Linked DNA regions of Homo sapiens: region 2 is linked to region 1. Evidence: promoter capture Hi-C in human tissues and cell types (Jung and others, 2019). All regions are on one chromosome and are shown on one strand. Each heading gives the region's core, a stretch centred on a gene start or on the middle of the fragment in contact. The rest is flanking DNA. Distances are from core to core; before and after follow the strand shown. Region 1 holds the start of DYNC1H1 (dynein cytoplasmic 1 heavy chain 1). Region 2 overlaps MARK3 (microtubule affinity regulating kinase 3).

Region 1 (5,376 bases), core at 1,307-3,806:
CATCTATCATAAAACTGGATTAATTTAAAAATCTTTCCTTAGGTTTTTGTAAGTGAAAAATAAATTATAGACAGGTTGAATTGGTAGAAATACTTCAAGGATTGTTATAAATACAGAAATGAGGTAGGATTTCAATTTTAGATAGTCTCATTCCTTAGTCAACTTTCAAAAGTGCAAGTCATTATGGAGCCAAGATTTGGATACCTGCATATTTGTTTTGCTGAAAGAAAAAAAGGTACTCATAAGACAACAGAGAGAATTTGTAGTAGATATTGTACTACATAAACATAGTCCCCCCACCCCAATAATTTTAGCAACGTCCAATTTTAAGATGCCTGGAAAAAGCGAATTACTGGTGATCACTCTAGAAGCAAAGTATAAAACTTAAATTTTTTTTCATAAAAAGAGTGACACAAGGTAAAAAAAATAAAATCACTGATTCTAATACATAAACTATGCAATAAAAATATCAAGGATTAGCAATGGTCAAGCTACTCAAAATACAATTAACTTTAAAAATGCAGATTAAAATGTATTTTAATAAAATGACGAATATGCATTGAAAAATGACCACAAAGACATAAACCAAAAATGCTGACAGTGATTATATCTGGGTCAAACAATTCCCAGTGATTTTTACTTTAGCTGTATAGTACATTTTCTACAATGACTATATGTTTTTTGGAAAAAAAAAAGAGTAGATAAATTTTTTTTTTTTAACTTTTGTGGCTTCCACTTAGGAATACATAATCCCAAACATCACAGTAAACAACCCTCAAAAACATTAATACTCTAAATATGCTCAAATGGTTTATTTGCCTTGAACATTCCACGTGGATATAAGAAAAAAATATTCTTTTACACCCTGCTAATCTCTGGCAGGAAACCAAGGCTACAGGGAAGCATCTTCTGAGTAAGAATAGCCTTTGAAAGAAACAAACCATCAGAAACACAGTGTGTGTTAAGGATGGGGCAGACAGTACAGGGTCTCTCACTGAGAGAACCATACAGTTTTTTGAAATTTTAAGAAGCTTGTTGGCAAATATTTTTAGACAATCTCCAATCCCTAGAGGCTAACCTTGGACATCATCCTTAGGTTCTTAGATGGACACGCCACACCCAAAGTGGTTGTAATGGGCTACAAAGTGGTTGTAATGAATCCATGAGAAAGCCTGCCTGCAGGCAAGCCCCAGACTTAGATGAATGTAACCTTGCTGGTGGGCGATCATTATTTGAGGAGACAGCTGGAACACGCTAACTCTAGCCTCTTCCCCCTACTAGGTGCCTAACCTGAATCTTTTTTTTTTTTTTTAATCTGTAAAATTAGACTCAAATATTACAGGGTTATCATTAACATCATCGAAGCATTAAACAAATATGAGGTATGATCAGTGAAAACAAGCAGTGGATGGGGAGCTGAGACACTGAGTCTAGTCTCAGGACTAAGATTAGCTGGTGACCTTGGGTGAAATCACTTAACCTGAGCCTCAGTTTCCTCAGGTGTAAAATCAGGATACACCCGTTCAGCAAGGATGCTGTGAGAGCATCCACCTACAACAGTGATGCTCGCAGGCCCGGGGCTGGCACCGTCGCTCTGTGGGCCTCGGCCTCTGGGTCCCCACAAGGCAGGGCTGGGACACCCGCCCGACCTCCTCCCGAACCAGAACCCCGGCTGCCCCCAGCTCCGCGGGTCTGCCCCCGACACATCCCTCCCGAAGGCCACTTGGCTTGGACACAAATCGAAACCGAAAAGCTCATGTGACACTGGAGGCAGGGATGCGGCCTCGCCCGCTCTCAGCCCAGGGAGACGCTGTCTCCACCCAACTCGGCCATCTTGAGAGGCCCGAGCAGACAAAGCGACCCCATTGTTTTGGGTGACGGCAGACGGGGACCCCTTTCCCCTCCCCGCGACCAGGAGCGGGGCGCCCTGGGGGCTCCGGGCCGGGCAGTGGGTGTGGCGAGGGCGAGCCCCGGGCGCCGCGCCGGCCTCTGCGGGGCGTCTGCGGCCCTGGGGACCCGGCCGGCGGGACGTCTGCGGCCGCCGGGCTCTGCCCATCCAGGGGTCATCTGCAGCTGCCGGGCTCCTCCCATCCCGGGGACATCTGCGACCCCGGAGGACCTGGCAGGCCCTGCATTCCGCGAGGCCTGGCTCTGGCGACCCTGCCCTCCGCGGCCCCGCACCTTTGAGCGTGGAGCGCTCCACCAGCACCGTGTGGACCTGCGGGTCCGAAAGGAACTTGCGCATCTGCTCCAGGGCGCTCTTCTCCTCCAGCGCCGCCTCCAGCGCGGCCGGCGCCTCGCCGCCGTCCTCCAGCAGCAGCGGCACCAGCTTGCGCAGGTGCTTCTGCAGCACCGACACGTCCGCCACATTCTGCACGGCCGACACTTCCAATCCGGCCGAGCCGTCCTCGCCGCCGCCGCCCCCGGGCTCCGACATGGTGTCGCGCTCGGGACCTTCCAGGAGCGATGAGAAGGCGGCCGCGACTCAGCGAGACAGCCAGCAAGAGACAGAAACGGCCGCCGGAAGCCGGACCGTCCGCTAGCCCACCGCAGACTGAGGAGAGCGGGAGCCGGCTCCGCCCTAAAGGCAGCCACTGCCAGGTGGCCCCGCCCCGCCCCGCCGGCCGCAGCCGCCGCAGCCACCCGCGCTCGCTCGCGGCCTTAGCGTCACGGCGCCGCGCGTGCGCGGGGGGCGGGCCCGGCGATGTCGCCGCGCGCCCTTCTGGGACTTGTAGTCTCGGCGCTGGTCGGGGCCCGCAGCCTCCGCACTGCGAGTCCTAGGAGATGGGGACTTGGCTCAACGTCCTGGCTCGGCGCCCGGGCTTGGCGAGGTTGGTCAGGGGCTGCGTCTGTCTTCTTCACTGCTGTGGACGCAGCGAATAGCACACAGCCAGAGAAACTTTATAGTGAATCAGTGATGTTATTGGCGAGAGCTAACGTTTAGTGAGCGCTTAGCCTGTGCCCGGCGTTGTTCTAAGCCCCTTAACCTCTCATTAAATGTTCTCTCATTGAATGAATGAATGACTACGTATCAGGTACCAAAATATAGGCACGACAGATGTGTTATTAGATATAGACCGGGAGATTGAGGATACTTTTCAGAGGGGGAGGAGATGAGGGGCGTGCTCAGAGAGTCCCATTGCCAGGCTGGAAACGGACAGCTGGGGAGGGGGCCTTCGGGGCAGTGTAAGGTTAAGCCAGGAATGACACCTTCACTGTACGTAAAGCCAAGCTGTGATGGGATCTGGTTCCTAATGACAAAAATCATTGTCCCCGAGGACGCTGTGAGGACCAAGAGGGAGACCTACTGAGAACAGCTACCTCCAGCAATGGCTCTCCTCCAGCCCCCTAGAGCTGGCACTGTCATTCTGTGGGCCTCAGTATCTGGGTCCGTACAAGGCAGGGGCTGGGTTGCCTGCCCACCAAGTTTCCCCCTAGTTCGGACCCACCACGACCTCCTCCCCTACACCATGACTACATAAGAGCCAGAATCCAGGCTGCCCAGCTGGGTGCGGTGGCTCACACCTGTAATCCTAGCATTTTGAGAGGCTGAGATGGGAGGATTGCTTGAGGCCAGAAGTTCCAAGACCAGCCTGGTCAACCTAGCGAGACCCTATATCTATGTGTATTTAAAAATTAAGAATTTTGTAAAATAATAAAAATAATAGAATCCAGGCTGCCCATCTTTGTAGTTTAGAGATGGTAGGTTCTTCTAAGGGGTAGTAATTGGCCTTTGAAAGTTCACATTCATAACTTCTTTCTTAAGTTGGGTGGAGAGAGGGAAGCCAATGGCGTTTTTTTTTTTTTTGGTTTTTTTGTTTTTTTTAAACATCAAAGTGCACTGTCAGAGTGCCGAGTCCTGATTGGTGGAATGATGATGGTATGATTTGATTCTCCCAAATCATCTTTGAAAAACTGTGAAACATACAATAAGCTTATTCCTTGCCTAATTACCGGTTGCTGGGTCCCAGGGGGTTGCTGGAACACGGAGACTAATCAGATGATTCTTGTCTTTAAGGAGCATGTGGAAGAGGGGACAGATGAATACCCCATCTTCCTGCTCTCCATCAGTCCGCCCTGGTGTGATGTGCCTAAGCAGTTCCGAGTAATCTTCCTGGAAAAAATAAATAGGCAACTGCGATGAGTTTGTGCAAGGATCCTAATGGTAATGAATAATAATAACACACCACTGACAGCGAACGCTGAGTGTTCACTGCGTGCTAGGCACCATGCAGAGGGTTTCCCCTCACATGTACTTTAGGGGTAGAAAGAGGGACAAAGAGGAAAGTCTATTAGGTGCAGATCTGTGAACTCTGAATAGGCCATCCACCATCTGAGACTCAGAAACCTGCAGGGACCTGGCCGATGGGCAGGCTGCATGCTGGCTGCACCATGAGTCAGCACCAGACTGGGAGACGCAGCCACTCAGGGATCCAAGGGACTCAAACATCTGCAACCTGGCCCCAGGCCAAGAGAACAAACTGCAGGCTCCGGATTTGCGGCCCTGTAGGATAGGCTCAAAATGAAACATGTTTGTTATTTCTAAGTGGATGGGAACTGAAAGAACCCGAACAATCAGTGTACAAGGATTCATGAATGGACCAAACATGCTTGCTTTTTGTTCTTGAAAGATGTTTGTTGTATTTAATATATAACGAGAAGAGTGGTCAACGCTGACTGGGTGCTGAGCACTTTAAGTGCATTACCTGGGTGGCTGGCTGGGCTGTGCCAGGGTTGAAGGGTGTGGGGAGCTTCTTTCAAGGTGCCCCTTCTGCCTCCTGGCACAGGACTCTGGCTCCAGCACACCCCAAGCTGACCCTGGTGGGGGTAGGGCCCCTCACCCAAACCTGGCCTCTCCCGTCTCTTGTTCTGCTGCCTCAGCTTTCTCCTGTCTGTGGTAGAGTCTGCTTGGACAGACTCTGGGCAGGGCAGGGGGCAGGGCAAGCTGGAGAGAGAATTCGTTCTAGGTTGATGTGGGATGATAGTGGCTGGTAGGGCGCTTGTATCCTATTGGAAATCCATGATGAGATCCCATTCATTCCCACCCTTCTCTTAACAATGTCTCCTTAAGTCCAAGTCTCAAGTCGGGTGCCCAGTTTCATACCATCCTTCCTCTCCCTCTCACAACCTTCGGGCAGGACCAACCCCCTCAGAGGAACCCCTGCTGCCCCAGCCCTTTCAGGCTCTGTGCCCAGGATCTCCCCTCCACTCCCTGGAAATTCCACATTTGGCCAGGTGTGGTGGTGCACACCCTTGTTCCCAGCTACTCAAAAGGTTGAGGTGGAGGTCGAGGCTGCAGTGAGCTGTGATCTCACTACTGCACTCCAGCCTGTGCAAGAGAGTGAGACCCCGTCTCTAAATAATAATAATAATAAT
Region 2 (5,800 bases), core at 3,066-5,565, 1.4 Mb before region 1:
TCCCACGACATCAGCCAGTAGACTCTAGCTTTGAGTCTAGCTCTGACTCAGTCAGTGTTGTTCCCTTAGTTTGAATGTCCTTTCTTCTCTTCAAATCTAAGAAAAACCTGCTCATTCTACTGAGTTTGTATCATCTGTCACCATCTTCATGAACCCTTCTAAGGCTCTCCCTGCATCTCATCAGAATTTCTTACTTCTCCTTACTGGGATCCTAGAGTACTTTGCTTGTATCTAACTCTATTATGCTACTTTTTTTTGTAGACAATACTATATCCATCATACTGGCTTTTTTACATCTGAGTTCCTGGAGGACTGCACTCCCTTCCCTTGAGGTTAGGCATAGACAGCCATGTGACTAAGCTGAACACATCCTGTGAGTGAAAATGAATGCCATTCCCATGCTGAAGCATTTAGTTGCCTGTGCTTAACTCTCCAGCCCTGTGTTTTGCTCTCCTGACCCTAAGCACTGCCCTAAAACGGACGGCCACAAGACCAAACTGGCCTGGACATGGAGATCAGTTTCCACGGAGCCAATGAGCCCTCAAGCAGACTTGGTGTGAGCAGAAGTTTTTTATTGTGTTAAATCATGAGGATGTTGGTGGTATGTATTACCACAGCATAACACAGCCTAACCTAAAACACGCTCATGCAAATCAACAATCATAATAGAAAGCAGAAAGAAACTTGTATTTCCTCATACAGCAGACTGAAAGATCTGATGCTTGTTAGGGTTAAACTCAATATATTTAATTCGATGTTTCTTGACGAAGTCCTTAAATTAAAAAATTTAAGAATTAACTTTTTAAAAGTTCCCTTAAAACAGAAGCAAATTAAATTGTCTTTTGCTTCCATTTGCCCTTCATTTTATTTTCCCAAGAATCCATCACCGACCCTAAGAAAAAGTTCCCTATTCCTATGCCACAGCACTCAGTACCAACATTAAACATTTAAACAAATAATTATGAGTTCTTGTACTGTTAATCAATTATTTCATACACGTATTTTTTTCTTCCTAAGGAGCCAATAAACAACCTGCATACACACACACACACACACACACACACACACACACACACAAAATGTTATATAATTCTTTGATAACTTTTTTTTTTTTTTTTTTTTGAGACAGGGTCTCGTTCTGTTGCCCAGGCTGGAGTACAGTAGTGTGATCGATCATACCTCACTGCAGCCTCGAACTCCTGGACTCAAGGGATCATCCCACCTCAGCCTCCTTAGTAGCTGGTACTACAGGTGCGTACACCACACATGGCTGATGTTTTAATTTTTTGTAGAGATAGGATCTCACTATGTTGCCCAGGCTGATCTCAAACTCTGGCCTCAAGCAATCCTCCTGTCTTATTCTCCCAAAGTGCTGATATTACAGGTGTAAGCCACCATACCTGGACTACTTTATAATATTTCATGGCAGACTATGCACATAATGGGTACTCAAAAGCTGCTGAGTTTAATTCTTATGGATTAAATGAGTCCTGATTCTTCTCCCTCCTGTGGAACTAAGCTGGTACCACTTCATCCACCATGAAAACTAGAATATGTAACTGCTACTGAAAAATGCTGAATACAGCCAAAGACATGAGATTTCCTTCTTCAAGAAGTTGAACACGTGTTTAGGGAGACCACATTGGCCAAATACTTGTTTTCCCAAACTTCTCTGCAGCTAGAGATAGCCATCTGGCTTAGTTCTGGCCAGTTCTCATTAGTTAAAGTCTACTAGGTGGCAATGTAGTAGGGGGTAGGGGTTGGTAATGCCTTTGTTTATCATAAAAGGGGAGGCCGGGCACTGTGGCTCACACCTGTAATCCCAGCACTTTGGGAGGCCAAGGCTAGCAGATCACCTGAGGTCAGGAGTTTGAGACCTGCCTGGCCAACATGGTGAAACCCCATCTCTACTAAAAGTACAAAAATTAGCCAGGCATGGTGGCACATGCCTGTAATCCCAGCTACTCAGAAGACTGAGGCATGAGAATCGCTTGAACAAGGGAGGCGACAGTTGCAGTGAGCTGAGATTCCGCCACTGCACTCCAGCCTGAGTGACAGAAACTTCATCTCAAAAAAAAAAAAGGAGGGTGGGGGGGTAAGGACAGAGTTGCCAGTACAGTTCCTTCCTCCTTCCTTGAATGCAACCATGTAGCTGTAACTGTAAAACATTATCCTGTAGCTACAGGGTCTCAAACATGACAGAAAAGACAAAACTACCTTAAAATACCACCAACTCCAATATTACTGAACTGCTGATCCAAAGCTAGACGCTGCATACCTCCAAATTCCTTTCTTTTTTTTTTTTTTCTTTTTTTTTTTTTGAGATGGAGTCTCACTCTGTTGCCCCAGGCTGGAGTGCAGTGGCGCCATCTCGATTCACTGCAAGCTCCGCCTCCCGGGTTCACGCCATTCTCTGGCCTCAGCCTCCCGAGTAGCTGGGACTACAGGTACCCGCCACCGTGCCCGGCTAATTTTTTTCGTATTTTTAGTAGAGACGAGGTTTCACCGTGGTCTCGATCTCCTGACCTCGTGATCCACCCGCCTTGGCCTCCCAAAGTGCTGGGATTACAGGTGTGAGCCACCGCACCCTACCCCAAATTTCTTTTTGGAGAAAAACAAACCCCCTATTTGTTTAGGGCACTGTGTTAGGTCTTTGTGACGTTCAGCCAAAGCACTACTGACATAGGGGCCATATCAACTCAAAGCAATAAGAAAAATGGGAATGTGCTCCATTTTGTTTTACATATTAGTTCTTAATTTTGCCCACATATAAAAGAAGCATGAATTGTAAATCACTGTATAATCAGAAGACAAATTAAAACATTTCTTAGACACATTTAAAAAATCTTTTAAAAAAATCCTTGCCGGCAGGAAGTCCGTAAAAAATTTTTTTAACATCAATATGGTTCCAGAATAGTTTTGCCCTTGTATCTACCAGGCAGAGAACCAACCTGAAATCTGAGAGGCCTACTTACGTACCTCCCACATGAGAAGAATCAGGTTTACAAGTTTAAAACAGCAACAACTTTACACTATGTTTCAAATCTTCCTGAACAGAACTTGATCCCTTCTGTAAAACAAAAGAAGTGTGCCCTTACATGCATTCTATTCCTTAAATCACAAGCCACTTACTTAACACATAGGTATGGTTTCCAAATGTTAAAAAACAAAAACAAAAACAAACTACAAAGCCAAGTTGTGACAATAAATGGCTGTCCTCCAAGTATTTTGTACTTTAGAAATATTCACAAAGTCACGTTTCACTTTTGAAAGCAGCTAGGCAATTATTTCATTCAACATAGAAAAAGGATTTGATAAGATTGAACAATTTATAATTTAAAAACTCTTGGCCAGGCATGGTGACTCATGCTTGTAATCCCAGCACCTTCAGAGGCTGAGGCAAGAGGCTTGCTTAAACCCGGAAGTTTGAGACCCGCCTGGGCAAACATAGCAAGACCCTGTCTCTACCAAAAAGCCCCCACAAAATTCCTATAGCAAACTAGGATTAGAATGGGATGTCTGTCCTTGATTTGATAAAAATCACCAACCCCCGCAAAAAACAAGAATGCACCCAAAGCCAAGGAATGTATAAAGAGATTCTAAAAATCAGAGAGAAATACAAGTTAAAACCACAATGTAGTATCACCTTAGGCCTGTTAGATAGGGAAAAGGCAGAAAGCTCTGAAATGTTGGCAGAGAAACGGGAATACAAAAACTGTGGTGCACTATTGATGGAAGCAGCCATCTAGAAGAACAATCTGACATTTCCTGTGACCCATCAAGTCCATTCCAAGCTATATATCCCAAAGAAACTCTTACATTGCTCCATAAGGGGACATGCATGAAGATGTTGAAGCATTTTTTTTGTGGTGACAGAGTTGGAGAAAATTAACATGTGCACCTCTGGCGAGCAGACTGGTAAAATGTGGTAGATGCATACATCTCACTGCTATTCAGCAGTTAGATGCAATATATTAAGCGCACAGATAAGACATATGTAATATTTACATAAAGTACCAAACATACCAAAATAAACTATGTAAGAACACATACACATACTAAACACATTAAAACAGTAACGTGGGGTGGAGGGTAAGAGTAATGACATATGGAGACTAACAGGAGTAGATAAAACAAGAAGATAGTCTCACATGGATCAAAGATAATGTGACTCTTCACAGCTGAATTTATGAGAAAGCATCTAAGAATATGAATAGGAAGGGGGAACTGTTATTGTCCCATAAATATAGTAAAATCTGTTTCACTTTTGAATAAAATAATTGTTACTGGTATAGTAGGTGAACTAATGTAATACGGTGAAAAATAATTTACTTGTCTAATCCTTAGAATAAAAAACTTGTAAGGCACAAGTTGTGGCTAAAAAAATCTTGATTCAGGCCAGGTGCGGTAGCTCACGCCTGTAATCCCAGCACTTTAGGAGGCTGAGGCAGGAGGATCACAAGGTCAGGAGTTCGAGACCAGCCTGGCCAATATGGTGAAACCCCATCTCTACTAAAAATAAAAAAATTAGCCAGGCATGGTGGCGGGTGCCTGTAGTCCCAGCTACTCAGAAGGCTGAGGCAGGAGAATCGTTTGAACCTGGGAGGCGGAGGTTGCGGTGAGCCGAGATCGCACCACTGCACTCCAGTCTGGGTGACAGAGTGAGACTTCATCTCAAAAAAAAAAAAAAAAAATGTTTATTCAGTAACTTTCGGCTAGTCAACTATATGGTAGGCATTAGCAGGGAATAAAAGAAACAGAAAAGTGTGGTGTCAAACCTTCAAGGCACTCATGATATACACGGGGTGCTAACGGGGGAATAGCAACTGAAACAAGGGGCAATTCCTGCCCCAAGAGAAAATCAGAGTGAATACTCTAATGCTGTCCAATAGGTGTATAATGTGACATACATATGTAATTTTCAATTTTCTAGTAGCTCCATTAAAAAATGTAAAAAGAAACATATTTAATACGTTAAATTAAATACCATTTTATTTAACTCAATATACCCCCCAATATTTCAATGCATAATATAAAAAGGCTTTATATCCTATTTTTGAAATACTGTCTTTGAACTGGTTTATCTTTTATACTTACAGAACACCTAAATTCAAACTAACCACGTTTCAAGTGCTTGGTAGCCCCACATGTGGCTAGTTGCTACTGTGCTGGATAATGCAGCTCTAGGCACCCAAAGGACATGATCACATTTGGGTGAGATGAAGGAAAAAAGGTACCCCAAGATGTGAAGGGATGGAGTCCTCAAAGGGCAAGTAGGAGAGTTCTTATGAGAGATGAAGGACATCTCAGGCCAGGCACCACCCAAGAAGAGGTAACAAAGCTTGGGTGAAAAGGGGAAACGCTACTCTACTACAACAACCCACCATTAGCCAAATTTACCGCCAATTTTTCAAGAAGCCTATCAATCTTAGTTTGTTATTTATAATAACAAGTACTAGCTAAATTTTAAAGACATGTATTGACATATGTAAACACCTAATCCAAGTCTGGTTATAAATCATGGCTGCATTTACTTCCCCTCCCTCTCCAAACTCCATTAATATGAAAGTAAAGGAAAAAAATATAAGGCATAAGGAAAAAAGCCACAAGACAAAGAAAATAAAAGTGGTAACAGATATACTTTCAGAAACTAAAAAAAGAAGGAAAATGACTTAACACATATAAGAAAGATTAATCCTAAGCCAGCTATGGAGATATTGGAAAATCCTGATTTGTATTATAGAACTCTCAAAAGGTTCAGGAACTGGTAGTACAAGTACCTCTAGAAGTGTGAGTGAAG

What was found. The method cuts DNA at HindIII sites, captures the fragments that hold promoters and counts their contacts. A contact is called where the count stands out against the background at its distance.
Region 2: a fragment that was not itself captured here is called in contact with the fragment with the promoter of DYNC1H1 in region 1 in 1 of the 25 tissues and cell types used here (lymphoblastoid cells).

Annotation. Positions count from the first base shown.
Region 1 is chr14:101,961,753-101,967,128 of GRCh38, reverse strand. It overlaps DYNC1H1 (dynein cytoplasmic 1 heavy chain 1), which reads right to left and starts at 2,556. Exons shown (of 78, transcript NM_001376.5): 1 at 2,182-2,556. The coding sequence starts at 2,437. RefSeq lists silencers at 1,864-2,073, 2,564-2,723 and enhancers at 1,599-2,208, 2,209-2,819, 2,864-3,003. The HindIII fragment of the contact is 2,222 bases long and covers 2,484-4,705 here.
Region 2 is chr14:103,396,221-103,402,020 of GRCh38, reverse strand. All of the region lies in intron 1 of MARK3 (microtubule affinity regulating kinase 3), which reads right to left. Among named protein-coding and RNA genes, the nearest start is that of MARK3, 14 kb to the right of the region's middle. RefSeq lists a silencer at 632-751 and an enhancer at 1,472-2,271. The HindIII fragment of the contact is 4,447 bases long and covers 2,092-5,800 here.